Regions from separate parts of the Homo sapiens genome. Here regions 1 and 2 are each linked to region 3. The links are contacts of gene promoters, found by promoter capture Hi-C in blood cells and fetal thymus (Javierre and others, 2016). All regions are on one chromosome and are shown on one strand. Each heading gives the region's core, a stretch centred on a gene start or on the middle of the fragment in contact. The rest is flanking DNA. Distances are from core to core; before and after follow the strand shown.

The links. The method cuts DNA at HindIII sites, captures the fragments that hold promoters and counts their contacts. A CHiCAGO score of 5 or more calls a contact.
Region 1: a contact is called between a fragment that was not itself captured here and the fragment with the promoter of ZNF397 in region 3, in 6 of 17 cell types (naive CD8 T cells, non-activated CD4 T cells, naive CD4 T cells and 3 more). The highest score is 9.5, in naive CD8 T cells.
Region 2: a fragment that was not itself captured here is called in contact with the fragment with the promoter of ZNF397 in region 3 in 3 of 17 cell types (total B cells, erythroblasts and naive CD4 T cells); the score reaches 7.3 in total B cells.

Annotation. Positions count from the first base shown.
Region 1 is chr18:35,955,292-35,958,964 of GRCh38, forward strand. All of the region lies in intron 2 of LOC105372066 (a long non-coding RNA gene), which reads right to left. Among named protein-coding and RNA genes, the nearest start is that of RMP24, 16 kb to the right of the region's middle. The HindIII fragment of the contact is 4,367 bases long and covers 1-3,673 here.
Region 2 is chr18:36,034,604-36,038,173 of GRCh38, forward strand. The region is part of intron 1 of RPRD1A (regulation of nuclear pre-mRNA domain containing 1A); the gene reads right to left. Among named protein-coding and RNA genes, the nearest start is that of RPRD1A, 31 kb to the right of the region's middle. The HindIII fragment of the contact is 5,642 bases long and covers 1-3,570 here.
Region 3 is chr18:35,239,412-35,242,771 of GRCh38, forward strand. It overlaps ZNF397 (zinc finger protein 397), which reads left to right and starts at 1,623. Exons shown (of 4, transcript NM_001135178.3): 1 at 1,623-1,698; 2 at 2,980-3,360. The coding sequence starts at 3,060. RefSeq lists enhancers at 1,305-1,414, 1,360-1,885 and a silencer at 1,675-1,804. The HindIII fragment of the contact is 1,449 bases long and covers 757-2,205 here.

The DNA.
Region 1 (3,673 bases), core at 428-2,927, 720 kb after region 3:
AGAGCAAACTAAACACAAAGTAAGTAGAAGGAAAGAAAGAATAAAGATCCATGTAGAAATTGATAAAATTGAAAATAGAAAAACAATAGAGAAAATTAACAAAGCAAAAAGCAAGTCTTTTAAAAGATTAATAAAATTGAAGTTTCACACAAGACTAATCAAGAAGAAAAGATACAAAACAAAATTTACCAATAACAGGAATTAGGTATATCATGTTATTATTTGTTTCCTGTCTGTTCCTTTTGCTTTTTATCCCTAATTTTCCCTTTCCAGCATTGTTTTTAGTTAAGTGAGCATTTTTTAGTATTTCATTTTCATTTTCATTTTATTTTATTATTTATAAATTATACATATATAATTTATTTAATTTTATTTAATTTCATTTTAATTTTCTACTGTGATTTTGACTATATCTCTTGGTATAGGTTTTTAAATGCCTTCTCTAGGGATTACAGTATACAGAACAGTGTCACAATCTATCTGGAATCAATATTTTACCACTCCAACTGGAAGGTGGAAATCTTACCACTATGTTAACTCATTCACCCTCCCCTTTTATGTTATGGTATCTACATATTACATCTATATGCATTAAAATCTTATAAGGTAATGCTATAATTTGTGCTTTCAACTGTCAAATATACTTTAAACATCTCAGGAGAAGAATAGTTATTATATTACCAGAATTTTATCATCTGTTACTCTTCCTTCATTCCTGATATTCCAAGTTTCTTTCTGGTATCATTTCCTTTCTATCTGAAAAACTTCCTTTATTAATTGAACAGGTTTACTGGCAACTAACTGCACATGACACATTCACCAAAAATAATTTTCTTTTATCTGAGAATGTCTCCATGTCATCTTCATTCACAAAATATATTTTCACTGGACATAGAATTCTGCATTGACAGTTCTTTTCTTTTAGCACTTTAAAAATGTGTCACTTCTTTCTTGCCTCCATGGTTTCTGATAACAAACACAGTCATTTAAATCTTCATCCCCCTTACAGGTAATGCATAGGCTTCCTCGGGCTGCCTTCAAAATTGTTCTTTGTCTGTAGTTTCTAGTAATTGGATTATGATGTTTCTGGGCACAAATTTCTTTTGTTTATCCTTTTGGGGCTCGCTAAGGTTCTTGAATCTGTAGGTTTATGTCTTTCACCAAACTCTGGAAATTATTATTATTATATTATTATTTTGAGATGGAGTCTTGCTCTGTTGCCCAGGCTGGAGTGCACTGGTGCAATCTTGGCTCACTGCAAACTCCACCTCCTAGGTTCAAGCAATTCTGCGTCACCCTCCCAAGTAGCTGGGACTACAGGCATGCACTACCACACCAGGATAATTTTGTATTTTTAGTAGAGATGGGGTTTCACCATTTTGGCCAGGCTTGTCTTGAACTCCTGAACTCAGGTGACCACTCACCTTGGCCTCCCAAAATGCTGGGATTACAGGCATGAACCACTGCACCCAGCCTCTCCAAATATTTTTTGAGAACAAACAATCTTTCTCCTCCATTTCTGTTACTCCGATGGCATGAATATTCACCTTTTGATATTTTCGTACAGGTCCCTAAAAGTATGTTCATTGTTTTTCACTTTATTCTCTTTGTTGTTCAGACTGGATGATTTCTATTGATCCTGTCTCAAGTTTGCCAACTCCTCAGTCATCTCTATTCCACTCTTAAGTCCATCCAACAAGTTTTTTACTTCAGTTATTTCATTTTTCTGGTCTGAAATGTCCTTTTATTTCTCTTTTATATCTTCTGTTTCTTTGCTGATGCTTTCTATCTTTCCACTCATGTCAAGAATGTGCATGACTGCCTCTTGGAACATTTGTATAATACCTGCTTTAAGTCTTTGTCAGATAATTCCAACATCTGTAGCCCATTATATTAACGTAATAAAGGGAAAAAATAATATATCAATTGATACAGAAAAGGCATTGGACAAAATTCAATACCCATTAATGATGAAAAAATGTTTTTCACTCTCAGCAAACTAGGAAAAAAAGACAACTTGTTTAATTTAATTGCAGGCACCTACAAAGAAAAAACTACAACTGATAATTCCTACTGATTGCTAAACATTTTCCCCTAATATTGGAAAGAAGGCAAAGTTCTCTATTCTTACAGCTTCTACTGTACTGGACATCCTGGATAGTTCAATAAGGAAAAAGAAAAAGAAAGAAAGAGAAAGAAAGAAAGAAAGAAAGAAAGAAAGAAAGAAAGAAAGAAAGAAAGAAAGAAAAAAAAAAAAGAAAGAAGCAGGAAGGCAGGAAGGCAGGAAAAGAACAAAGGAAGGGAGGGAGGGAAAAAGAAAAAGGAAGGAAGGGAGGGAGGGAAGAAAGAAAGAAAGAGAGAAAGAAAGAAAGAAAGAAAGAAAGAAAGAAAGAAAGAAAGAAGGAAAGAAAAAAAAAGAAAGAAGCAGGAAGGCAGGAAGGCAGGAAAAGAACAAAGGAAGGGAGGGAGGGAAAAAGAAAAAGGAAGGAAGGGAGGGAGGGAAGAAAGAAAGAAAGAGAAAGAAAGAAAGAAAGAAAGAAAGAAAGAAAGAAAGAAAGAAAGAAAGAAAAAAAGAGAAAGAAAGAGAGAAAGGAGGGAGGGAAAAAGAAAAAAAAGAAAGAGAGAAAGAAAGAACGGAAGAAAGAGAGAGAGGGAGGGAGGAAGAGAGAGAGAGAAAGAGAGAGAGAAAGGAAGGAAGGAAGGAGTTGAAAAAGAAGCAATAAATACATTCCTATTTGAAAATGGTATGATCATTGGCATAGAAAATCCTAAAGAATCAACAACAAAAACCTTCTAGATCAAATACAGCAGTTAAACTAGGTTCCTCCTACCAACTAATACATCAGTTTAACTAACTCAATGTACAAAAATCAATAGTATGTCTATATACTAGTAGAAAACACTGGAAAAGTGTTGACTTCTAAGACATATCTACAAAAAAAGAAAGAAAAAACTGGAAAAATGGAATTTAAAAAATAATCTCATTTATCATACCATCAAAAACATAAGAAAAAGTTTGAATACATTCAATAAAAGATATGCAAGCCCTGTACATTGAAAATAACAAAATATCATTGAGATAAGTTAAACAAAACCTAAATAAATGGAAATATATCGTTTTCATAGATTGAAAGATTCAATATTGTTAAGATGCCTCCCCATACTGATCTACAGTTTCAACTCAATGTCGATAGGTTTTTCTTAGAAATTGACAAGATGATTCTAAAATACATATGGATGTGCAAAAGATCTAGAATATCTAAAACAATCTTGAAAAAGTAGAATAAAGTCAGCTGGGAACTTATATTACCTGACTTCAAGGTTTACCACGAAGTTATAGTAATTAAGACATTGTAGTGGCTCACGCCTGTAATCCCGGCACTTTGGGAGACCGAGGCGGGCAGATCACGCGGTTAGGAGATCGAGACCACGGTGAAACCCCATCTCTACTAAAAATACAAAAAATTAGCCGGGCGCAGTGGCAGGCACCTGTAGTCCCAGCTACTTGGGAGACTGAGGCAGGAGAATGGCGTGAACCTGGGAGGCAGAGCTTGCAGTGAGCAGAGATCGCACCACTGCACTCCAGCCTGGGCGACAGAGTGAGACTCTGTCTCAAAAAAAAAAAAAAAAAGACATTGTGGTGTATACATAAGGATAGGCAAATAGATCAAGA
Region 2 (3,570 bases), core at 787-3,286, 800 kb after region 3:
TCTTATATTTTACTAGAATTAAATTTGAATCACTCAATGTAGTACAGTTATATTCAGAAGCATCATACCTTGTGGCATCCATAGTACAGTGGTGTAGGAAACTTATGGTCAGGACCAATTATGCAGTATCCTATTGATGTGGGCTATCTTATTGGATTTAAGACAAAAATCTTGATCAGGCTACATGTGGTCCTCTAGATGTTAAGTATTCAATTTACAAATTTAAGCATTTGACATATTAAAAAGTCACCTCTGAGTTCACATCATTCTCGAGGAGCAACCAGAAGCCCAACCTTCTCATATACTAAGTCACAACTGATCAAACTTTACAAACCTGTGCCATGCCACTGTATAACCTGGTTTGTCTGTTTAAATTGCTGTCTACCACTTTTCATGATTTTGCAAGTTGCTGGCATGGAATAAAAATAAGAAGAGATGGCTATAACAGAGACCAGCTTCTGGTTTTCAGGCTCCTTGTCTGGTTAGATAAACCACAGTGTACAACTGGTTAAGATATCGGGACCCTATCCTAACATTCAGTCCTGTCTCTTTTGTACCCATCCTTGCCCTCTCAATCCCACCCACAAAATAGATTGGTATTGTTCAATCCAGATTTTTGCCTTCCCAGTGTCAAATGAGTTTAGAAACTCAAATTTGTATTATCTAATTGGGAGATTGCCTGCATCACTTTTGAATGGGTACCTGAACAAACAATCCTTTCACTGCACTTTTACTATGTGCTACACACTATTCCAAGCACTTTACATACATTATCTCAATCCTAACAATATGTCTCTATTTGGCAGCTGAACAAACAAAGCCAAAAACATTATTTGCCCTCAGGGAAATAATGAGGAAGAGATAAGCCAGGATTGGAATCCAAAAAGTCCAACAGCCAAGCAAATCCCTCTTAACAACTAGACCATGCTTCCTGTCATAATTAAAAGGGCATGTTAATCTTTGAGACTCAAAAGTAGCAACTGAAAAGAAGAAAAAGATAAAACAATGCAAAACAAAAAGTAGCAACTGAAATAAAAATATTTTACAATGTTAGCAGCATTATTCACAATAGCCAAGAGTTAAGAGCAACCTAACCCACTGATCAATGAATAAACAAAATGTGAATTATATATTCAATAAAGTATTATTCAGCCTTATAGAAGAAGGAAATGTTGACGCATGTTACAACATGGATGAATCTCCAGGACATCATGCCAGGTGAAATAATCGAGTCATGAAAAAAGACAAACCACTGTATGATTCTACTTATTGGAGGTACTCAAATTCATAGAAAAAAAGAGTAGAAGGATAGTTGCCAAAGGCTGTGGGAATGGGAGGAGAATAGGAAATTATTCATGGGTACAGAGTCTCAGTTTTGCAAAATGAACAGTTCTGGAAACTGGCTACACAACAATGTACTTAACACTACTGGACTGTACACGGAAAAAATGAAGATGGTAAATAATATTTATTACCACAAAAACAAAAAAAATGTTTTTGTTTTTTTTGTTTGAGACAAGTTCTGTCTCCCAGACTAAAGGCTCACTGCAGCCTCGACCTCCTGGGCTCTAGCAATCCTCCTGCCTCAGCTTCCAAGTAGCTGGAACCACAGGCACACGCCACCATGCCTGGCTAATTTTTTAAATTTTTTGTAGAGATAAGGTCTTACTTTGTTGCCCAGGCTGGTCTTGAACTCCTGAGCTCAAGTGACCCTCCCACCTAGGCCTCCCAAAGTGCTGGGATTACTGGTGTGAGCCACTGTGCCTGGCCCTAGAATGTTTTTTAAATTCATGGGTTATATCAATCTCTCAAAGAATTCAGAATTGCTTTTACAATATACACTAAAATAAAAATTTACAAGATTTAAAAATATATTTACCAGTGTTTTCCAAAGGACAAATTCCATATGAGGTGATTGAGCATGGGGTCCAAATACCAAGATACTATTTTCACTTTTATCTTTGTAGGACCAAGCAAAAATATGAAAAATACCCAGCAATCATCACAACTTATGCCCTTCCCTAAATTTTCAGGGAAAGAAATTTACTTCCATTTAAAATTATGTGTCCCTATACATACAGCAAATAATTAATGGCGGTAATCACAGCAAGCAATCCAAGAAAATCACACAAAAAATTTCCAAATGAATTTTGATATTTTTAAAAATAACAGAGCCATAAATTGTTATTAAAAGAGAAACAGTTAACAGAAAGGGAAAACAAACCATGTCATAATTCCACAAAGAAATGCCACTGTTGGCAACAAAGAATGTAAGACTAAGTGACAGGTCTGACTTAGTTAATTCCTATGTTTCTGTTGCTCATGGGGTTCTTTCCAAAAACACCGGTTTTCCAAACCGTCCATTCAATTTAAATAGCATTTATTATTTTAATGTTTGCCATGTACCAGGGACCACGCTAAGTACAGACTAAAATTAACGTTTCCTGTTCAATCAGGAGTTTGCAAGTTCCATACAAATTGGCAGATGATAGGTCACATCACTAAAATGTTACTTTTTTTTTCCTTATTTCTTCTCCCCATGAATATATCACACCAACACAGAAACAATCATAAATAACATATACTTGTGATACAGTTTGGCTGTGTCCCCACCCAAATCTTGAATTGTGGTTCCCATAATCCCATGTCATAGGAGGAACCAGGTGGGAGATAACTGATCATGGGGGCAGCTACCTCCATGTTTTTCTCATGTTAGTAAGTGAGTTCTCATGAGATCTGATGGTTTCATAAAGAGCTTTCCCCCACTTCACTCTGTACTTCTTCCTGCCACCATGTGAATAAGGACGTGTTTGCTTCCTCTTCTGTCATGATTGTAAGTTTCCTGAGGTCTCCCCAGCCCTGAAGAACTGTGAGTCAATTAAATCTCTTTCCTTTATAAATTACCCAGTTTCAGGTATTTCTTCGTAACAGCATGAGAACAGACTAATACAGTAAATTGGTACCAAGTAGTGGGGCACTGCTGTAAAGATACCTGAAAATGTGGAAGCCACTTTGGAACTGGGTAACAGGCAGAGGTTGGAACAGTTTGGAGGGCTCTGAAGAAAACAGAAAGATGTGGGAAAGTTTGGAACTCCCTAGAGACTTGTTGAATGGCTTTGACCAAAATGCTGATAGTGAAGTAGACAATGAAGTCCAGGCTGAAGTGGTCTCAGATGGAGATGAGGAACCTGTTGGAAACTGGAATAAAGGTGACTCTCACTATGCTTTAGCAACAAGACGGGCAGCATTTTGCCCCTGCCCTAGAGATCTGTGGAACTTTGAGGTTAAAAGAGATGATTTAGGGTATCTGGTGGAAGAAATTTCTAGCCAGCAAAGCATTAAAGTGACTTGGGCCCTCTTAAAAGCATTCAGTTCCAGGCATTCACAAAGATACGGTTTGGAATTGGAACTTATGTTTAAAAGAGAAATGGAACATAAAAGTTCGAAAAATTTGCAGCCTGAGGATACAACAGAAAAGAAAACCCATTTTCTGAAGAGAAATTCAGGTGGGCTGCAGAAATTTGCAAGTAACAAGGGGCCAAATGTTCATCCTCAAGACAATGGGGAAAA
Region 3 (3,360 bases), core at 373-2,872:
TGGAGAAGAATCAAGTAACTTCAACCAAGAGGCAACACCAAGACTTCAGCAATTTGAGTGAAGCCATCTTGGACCTTCCACCCCAGTTAAGTGAAGATAGCTGACACATCATAAAGCAGACTAGCCATCTCCGCTAAGCCCTTCCTGAATTCCTGGCAACAGAACTGTGAGCAATAAAACATCTGCTGTTTTTAGTCACTAAGTCTTGAAGTGGTTCATTATGAAGCAATTGATAATTTATAAACAAATTAATATTATTTGGTTTTTTGCTTTGTAAAATTGCTGTAGTCATTTCACAATGATAAAATTATTTAGTGAGTCACTAATAGCTTTGAATGCTAACGAACATTTTTCTCAAATATGTGTTTTAAGTCTTGGCTCACAAAGGAGAATTTGTTTCTATGTATGTATGTATCGCTTTGTTATTATCCTGTGTACTTTTTTAATATAACATTTTAAAAATATGTAACATTTAAACATGTAAAATGTAACGTTTTAAAAATAAATACAAATAAATGGGAAACGATTTGCAACAAACGAGTTGCTATCCTTAATAAGCAAAAAATTCTCACAAATAAAAAAGAAAAATCTTACTCCCTTAATTTTTTAAATGGGAAAAGCCATCTCTGAAGAACCATAAATGGTCAGTAAACATGAAGGGGGACTATCTTAAGCTCACAAAGTTGAAACATGAGGCATCATTTTTCACCGACTAAATAGCCAAAGAAAAATTTAAACAGTGAGACAATACCAGCAAGCTTCCACTGAAGAACGGGAAGACCCTAAGATAGGCTCCAGGAGTCTACGATACCAGTCTCCTTGAACTATGGGGACGTGGACGTCCCTGGTCACAAGTTGCCTGACTTTGGGCGATGTCTACGGCTGTAAATTTGGGATTATATAGCCACAGCACAGAACTGTTGTAAGGCTCCAGTGATACTCATAGGCAAAAGCAATATAAGTGACTGTTAGTTTTTGTTCAGCCTATTCATCCTTACATTTACTTTTGTCGGAAAAGAACTGGAATCACAGGAAAATCTGAGGTTTTTTTTTTTTTTTTTTTTTTGAGACAGAGTCTCGCTCTGTCGCCCAGGCTGGAGTGCAGCACATCTCAGTTCACTGCAAGCTCCGCCTCCCGGGTTCACGCCATTCTCCTGCCTCAGCCTCCCGAGTAGCTGGAACTACAGGCGCCCGCCAACATGCCCAGCTAAATTTTTGTATTTTTAGTAGAGACGGGGTTTCACCGTGTTAGCCAGGATGGTCTCTATCTCCTGACCTCGTGATCCGCCCGCCTCGGCCACCGCGCCCGGCCGAAAATCTGAATATTTTAATGGAAAACTGGGAGTGAGATTCGGGAATTACTTGAGACCAACAATGATGGGTGGTGCCAGGAGAAAGCCAGGGTGGGAACGGCCCAGGCGAGATGCGGGACCCTCCAGGTGCCGCCGCTCACAAGGACCCCTGACTCCTAGCGCACCCTCCCCTGGCCTTGGAGATTCCGCCGGGCTAGCGGCTACCGGGAGAAGGCGGTGGAAACTGTAGAGCCCGCGGCTCTGATTGGCTACCTCAGAGCAAGGGGCGGGGCGGCGGAGGACCCGAAGGGCGCGAGAGCGGAACACTGCGTACGCGCACTTCCGGTCTTTGTGGCTTGCAGCTCGGGGTGGGTGGCTCATTTCCTGGCCGCTCCTGGGCTTCGCGGTGAGGGACGTGGGCCCCTAGGAAGAGGGAGGTGGGGTTGGGAGCGCGCGCCGGACAGTGGAGGAGCTCCGCTCCTCGGCCTGCCCATCCCCAGGTCGCGGCCCTTTGGCCCGCGCGGCGTCTCCAAGCGACTGGGGAACTCAGAGGAGGCCAGCACTCAAACTCCTGCTTTCCAAAGGAAAACGCAGTTCCGCTGACCCCGTGACTTCGTAAATGCTGCGGTTTAACCAAGGATATAAAAATAGAAGGGCTAGTTAGTTAGTTAGTTAGTGCGGCCGGACTGGTTAAACCTTAAATTTGTAGGCTAAATATTTTAATTCATCTCTTAACGTTAACCGTAGTGTGAGGAATGAATTTTACTCATCTGTCCTGACAAACTAAGGGCATACATTCCTATCGATATCTCGCCATCCTAAAAGCAGGTCAAGTTTGGTCTGTGTCACAACATTTAATACCTATTTGTTACCATATTTTGCTTTTGAACATTTTTAGTCTTGGGATATTCTAAGCTTTTTCAGAACTGATACGGATCTCTTTGCTGCTTTTGTGTATGTGATACCTATCATGTTTTTGAACACATGGTAAGCATTTTACAGATACGTCTTGGTTCTTGGTCAATTCCTCTGTAGACTCGTTTATTCATAAGCAAAAATCTTAATGCTCAGTAAGTGCCTCAGTGTTTGTTGAAGTAATTCGGTAAACACCAAATGCGATCAAATGACAAATATCCAATATTTACATCAACTCATGTTTAATGTGAACTTTTAAAAAAACGTTATTACTGCCTTAAATGAAAATCAACATTACTTGCTTTAGATAGAAAGTAAGTAAAAATAAATGTTTAAAATCAGTATTACTAAATTCTGCCTAAATATTTTTACTCTTGGAAGTCTGATTCTGAAGCCTGTATTTTATTTAAAAGAGAGTTCTACAAGTTTTATTAATACATACATGTTAAAGATAGACTTTTCTCCTTGATACAATCAGAATTGAAAGAATTGGAAAGGAAATTTTCTCACTATGTGATTGATGTTAATGTTGCATTCACATTCTTAGGCTTCTAAAATAGTTTTTTCTAACATTAGTGGTAGGAATTCTTCATAATGGGAGACACTAATTGAGGTTAATGATTTTTAGTTTATCATCACATTATTGTTTTATTTAGTGATAGCCCCAAATCTACTCCCTTTCAATATATTACTAAAGTTACTCATCTTTCTTATTACAAGTACTTAGAGATTTTATTGATTGCTGTAAGTTAACTGCTTTTATATCCTTCAGGAAAGAAGAGATTACTCACACTCCTTCGCAAGCACAGAACCAGTTGTACTGAGCTTTTTGCTAAGCTGTTTCAGCCAAGAATGGCTGTGGAATCTGGAGTGATTTCAACCCTGATACCTCAGGATCCTCCGGAACAAGAACTAATACTAGTGAAAGTAGAAGATAACTTTTCCTGGGATGAGAAATTTAAGCAGAATGGGAGTACTCAATCCTGCCAAGAATTGTTTCGTCAGCAATTCAGAAAATTTTGCTACCAGGAGACACCTGGGCCCCGGGAGGCTCTGAGCCGACTCCAGGAACTTTGCTATCAGTGGCTAATGCCAGAGTTGCACACAAAGGAGCAGATCTTAGAACTGCTGGTACTGGAGCAGTTCCTGAGCA